2 separate regions of the Homo sapiens genome follow, and region 2 is linked to region 1. Evidence: promoter capture Hi-C in 16 types of primary human blood cells and fetal thymus (Javierre and others, 2016). All regions are on one chromosome and are shown on one strand. Each heading gives the region's core, a stretch centred on a gene start or on the middle of the fragment in contact. The rest is flanking DNA. Distances are from core to core; before and after follow the strand shown.

The links. The method cuts DNA at HindIII sites, captures the fragments that hold promoters and counts their contacts. A CHiCAGO score of 5 or more calls a contact.
Region 2: a fragment that was not itself captured here is called in contact with the fragment with the promoter of MIR381HG in region 1 in 1 of 17 cell types (endothelial precursors); the score reaches 5.6 in endothelial precursors.

The regions. Positions count from the first base shown.
Region 1 is chr14:101,043,735-101,046,434 of GRCh38, forward strand. MIR381HG (MIR381 host gene) reads left to right here and starts at 1,423. Exons shown (of 3, transcript NR_104192.1): 1 at 1,423-1,450. MIR1185-2 (microRNA 1185-2) reads left to right here and starts at 464; the gene lies at 464-549. MIR381 (microRNA 381) reads left to right here and starts at 2,186; the gene lies at 2,186-2,260. RefSeq lists enhancers at 2,031-2,531, 2,532-2,700. The HindIII fragment of the contact is 10,476 bases long and covers 1-2,700 here.
Region 2 is chr14:101,343,411-101,346,110 of GRCh38, forward strand. No RefSeq gene overlaps it. Among named protein-coding and RNA genes, the nearest start is that of LINC00524, 63 kb to the right of the region's middle. The HindIII fragment of the contact is 769 bases long and covers 898-1,666 here.

The DNA.
Region 1 (2,700 bases), core at 173-2,672:
ACACATTCTTGGATCTGGTCATCTCTAGGACAACCAGCCTCAGAGGAGAGACATTGTCTCAGCGCTCTCCAGCTCTGAGAATGCCTGCAGATGCCTTCTTCTCTGATAACTCCATGTCTTGCCGGGCTGAGCCCTCACACCCTGTGCCCCTTTGGAGAAAGGTGATGGTTCCATTGTCCATGTAGCTTGTGGGTATTTGAAGCAGGTTCACCCATGCATGCTGAGCACACTGATAGTCATGCCTACCTGTTCCCTTGTTTAGAAGCCAGTCTCGCCTGCAGGGAGTCCTGGATGTGCCACCTTTCGGGGCCAGGCCACAATGTGCAAGGTGCAGGCCCAGCTCCAGGGTCAGCCAGATGAGGCTTGTCACCGGGCCCCTCCCCCTTGGTCTCAGGCCTCGCAGGAGGAGATGTCCACTCCGGCAAAGACCCGGCATGGTCCTCACCTGCTCTTTGAGCCACCCTTTGGTACTTAAAGAGAGGATACCCTTTGTATGTTCACTTGATTAATGGCGAATATACAGGGGGAGACTCTCATTTGCGTATCAAACTGTCGGAGAAGACACTCATACCCTGCTTGTCTCCAGGACAAAGCCTCGGATGTCAGCCCCTCTCAGGTATGGCCTGGCTTCCATGTCCGGGAACGTGAGGTTGGCTGTGACGCTGCCCCTGGGTTCTGCCTTCGCCCTCTATGCTGGTTCTTCCTGTGGACTCCCTGGAAGCAGTGGGAGAGGAGGGACCTTTTTGTGTGCTCCAAGTTTAATGGTGGTTTGCTTTTTTAAGGATAAATCACACATTGATCTGCCTCTTCTTGGTACCAAGTCATACACAGAAGGCTTCCTGTTCCCAGCATCAGCCTTAGAAGGGGGACCTGGATGTTGGATCATTTCAAGGGGAACACAGACAGCAGTGATGGTGGACCACGGAGCACTGGCTCTGTCTATGCTGTTTTCGAGCCTGGTAGGCCAGCCCCAGGAGGGCTTCCTGGAGGTGGTATTGACCTTGGGGAAGGGGCTGAGGTGTGCTCATCAGCGCTTTTTTTTTTTGATGCTTGGGTGTTCATGATCCAGCTCGCAGTCCCCAGGCTGAATCTGTAAGAATGGTTTGCTTCTATTTGTCATTTGTGATTGCCCATGAAGGCAGCGCTGGGGATGAGCCGTGGGAGCTGTCAGCCCCGCACCAGGTGCGTGCATGTGGGAGGTCAGAGGGCGCCTGCTTCTGCCTCGATGTCTGTGCCCCGTCTCTGACTGCTGGCTTTCTGCTCACACCTAGGATGGCTGCCTGAGAATGGGACTCTTGTTCTGTGTTTGTGGAGACACTCCTTGGGCCGTGTGACTGCCGGCTTTTTACACCCCGACTGCCATGGGGGTCATCTGGACCCGAAGCCAGCTTCAGGAAGGACATTCGCAGCATCCTCAGCCCAAGGAAAGCGAACGTCCAGCTGAAGAGAGGTGAGCACCACGCCTGGGTAATGAGTCACATAACCTGCCACCTGGACCAGGCGGCTCCCGCTCCTCTCCCCTTCTTGAAGGAGAGACCACTGTGGGGAATGGGCTGTGGGTCTGCTTCCTCAGTTACTTGGGGGTACGTGGGGTTTACTACTGTTGACCCTGTGCTCTTTCTTAGCATGGCTTCATGGCCACGATGCCAGCCTCTGGCAGGGGTGGGGCAAGGGCTGGCATGGAGAATGACACTGGTGTCAACGGCTCTGTGAGATGGATGAAGGGATGGTGACCACAGGGCCTTTGCTTTGTCTAAGGTGTAAATTCATCCAGTGCCTGGGACCTCGGTGCTGAGTGCATCCTTAGGAAAACTTCCTGGAGAGGTGCCCACACTGGGAAGGAGATGGTGGTCCCACCCCAGGGAATTCCTATAGAAAGTGAGAAGCTGAGCTCTGCGTGTGCCCAGGAAGGCCCGTGGGGTGGATCTCCTTTTCAGGAACAAGTTCTAATCTGGAGTGATGCCTGGAAAAGAGGCTGATTCTGGTGAAGGGGCACTGGCGTCTGCCCCTTCCTGGCCCCTTTGGGATGGAGAGCTGACCTATGGGCACACAGCTGGCAGGTGGTGTTTGCCACCTGGTCTGCTGATCCCGCATCTCCCACCCCCTCCCCCGCCAGGATGAACCCCGGGAGAGGAGGCCGGCCCCGTGAATGATAGTGAGGAACCTGCCCAGTGCTATTGTTTGGTACTTAAAGCGAGGTTGCCCTTTGTATATTCGGTTTATTGACATGGAATATACAAGGGCAAGCTCTCTGTGAGTATCAAACCTTGTCTTGGACCCAGTCCACACTCAGCAAGGGATGCGGTATGTGTGTGCATGACCGTGTGTATCCGTTTTGTGTGTGGCAAATCGTTCACGGGTCCCCACTTCACAGAGAGGACTTCACGGGCACCTGGATGACTTTAGGGAAGGCAGTGGCCTCTGGGACATCCCCTCTCCTGGTGCAGTGTGGGCGGGGCCAAAAGCATGCACGATGTGTGTGGTCTGGGTCCCTGCTTCCTGAGCGGGAAGTCATCAGCCCGGGCCGATGGCTGGGGTGGCGCTCGTGTGGGGTAGTGGCTTTGTGGTCCCTGCTGTTACTCGGTCCGTGAGTGTGCATGTTCTGCTTGGGGTATGTGACCCGGTCCACTAACCCTCAGCATCTAATTCATCCCCAGGACCGCGCCTTGAAGACGTACCAAGTCCACCCAAGGCAGTGGC
Region 2 (2,700 bases), core at 32-2,531, 300 kb after region 1:
TTTGGACACAGAACAACAGGCCACACAGAGCAGAGATCCTTTAAAGAAGGGAAACAAATGGGCAAGCCTTACCACGGTCCTCACTTACCACCTAGAAATCCTTTCCAGGCTACGTTCCAGGGAAAGCTGACCCAAACAGAGCCTGCTGTTCCCTCAAAGGAGGAGACAGAGCTGAGAACCCAGGGAGGCCCAGGCAGCTAGAATTGTAGGGCAGAGTTCAACGAGGCTTCCCCTGGAGACTTCCATGGAGTACTGATGGATGTATGCCTGCAAGACAACTACCAAGGCCAGGAAACTCCCACCAGAAAGGAACAGGCAGAAAAATGTGTGAGTCTCAGTGGGCCAGGAACAGATTGTGTTCTCACCAGTCCAAGTAGAGAAACTTTGTAATACCCAAGGCATCAGGTAGAGTACTCAGAAGGCTATTGCCACAAGAGCAAAGTAAAATCATCCCTACACCAATGGCCATCCTGGTTTCCCCTGACAACGCTTTAAAGTAAACCTCAAAAAGGATCAGGCTGTTTCCAAGTAACACAATGGCTTCCAAGGATAACACTCAAGAACATGTAAAGGAATATAAAGTTATCCGGCACCTACAAAATAAAATGTACAATGCTGGCATCCAATGGAAAAGAATGCAAAGTAATAGAAAAATATGACCCAGAATCAGGAATATCAATCAATAGAAACAGACCCAGAAATGACACAGATGATAGAGTTAGTGGACAAAGATGTTAAAAAGTTATCATATTTTGTATGTAGAGTTAGTCGACAAAGATGTTAAAAAGTTATATTTTGTATGTAAAGAAGGTAGAGGAGAACATAAGAATATTGAAAAAGAGGCATTGGAAGTTGTAGAAAAGAAGACACAAATTGAATTGATAGAGTTTTTTTTAAAGCTTAGGATGAAGTGTAGATTACACTATAGAAAAAAAAATGTAGTGTACCTGAAGACACAGAAATGCAAGCCACACAAAATAAAATAAAGAAAGTAAAAAGATGGGGGAAGGGGAGACTGACCAGAGAATTAGCATTGCTGGGACAAATTCAAATGTCCCAATCTACATGTAATTGGAGTCCCTGAAGGAGAGGCAGATGGGAAAAAATTGAAGAAATTATGATTGAAATGTTTCCAAATTCTATAAAAACTATAAACCCACAGATACAAGAAGTTTGAAGAACCTCAACCACTGTACATCATAGTAAAATTGCCCAAAAGCAGTGATATAGAGAAAACTTTAAAAGCATTCAGCATAAGGGAGGGAGAAATGCTTTATGTACAGAAGAACAAATGTAAGAATGAGAGCCAAATTCTTATCAGAAACAAAGTATGCCAAAAGATAATACAGCAACATCTGAAAGTGAAAACAACTGTCCATCTAGAATTATTTACCCACCAAGAAAAATTATCTTTCAAAAATAAAGGCAAAAAGGAAGACCTTTTCAGATACACAAAAGCTGAAGAAGTCCATTGCCAGCAGACCTTCACTTGCAAGAAATGGTCAAGTAAGCCCTTTGAGCAGAAGACAAATGTTAACAGATAGAAATCTAGATGTATGCAAAGAAACGAAGAGCACCAGCAATGGTCCATATTGAATAAATATAAAAGGCATTTTCTCTTATTTAAAAAAAAATCTCTTTAAAAGATAATTGACTATTTCAAGTAAGCTTAATAATGAGGCTTAAAGTATATGAAGAAATGAAAGGCATAACAGCAATAGCACAAAGGCTGGAAAGGGAGAAACAGGAGTACAGCTTGGTAAGATGGTTGTGCTGTATGGGAGGTAGTCTAATATTACTCAAAGACAGACTGTTATAAATTTAAGATTTATACTGAAAGTCCTAAAGCAACCTCTATTTAAAAAATATATGTAGCAAAAGGCTGGGCATGGTGACTTACGCTTGTCATCCTAGCATTTTGGGAGGCCAGGGCAGGAGGATTACTTGAGCTCAGGAGCTCGAGACCAGCCTGGGAAAAATAGTGAGACCTCATCTCTTTAAAAAAAAAAAAAAGGATCAAATTGATAAACCACTCTCCAGACAGATCTGGAAAAAGAAAGAGAAAAAAGCAAATTGCCAATATCAGAAATAAGAGAGAAAAAGGATATCACTGAAAATACTGCAGACAATAAAATGACTATGAGAGAATATTATGAGCAACTTTCTATAAATAAACTCAATAATTTCAATAAAATGGAAAAAGTCCTTGAAAGACATGAACTGCCAGATCTCACTCAAGAACAGGTTATCCAAATAGCCCAGCTTCATATCTATTAAAGAAATGTAATTTGCTGTTTAAAATCTTCTCACAGAGAAAATCCCAGGGCCACTTGGCTTAACTAGAGAATTCCACCAAGCATTTAGGAAAGAAACAAAATCAAGTTTACACAAATTCTTTCAATAACCTAAAGAAGAGGAACATTTTACAACTTATTCCATGGGGAAGTATTACTCTGATACCAAAATGAGAAGACAGTATTACAAAAAAACTACAGAGTAATATATATTATGAACACAGATGCAAATATTCTTAAAGAAATCGGAGTATATTGAATCAAACAATATGCAAAAAGAATAATATGCCATGACCAAGTGGAGTTATAAAGCAATGCAAAATTGACTTAACATTTGAAAATCAAATAATGTAATTCACCATATTGGCAAATATAGGAGAAAACCATATAGGGTCATCTCAATAAA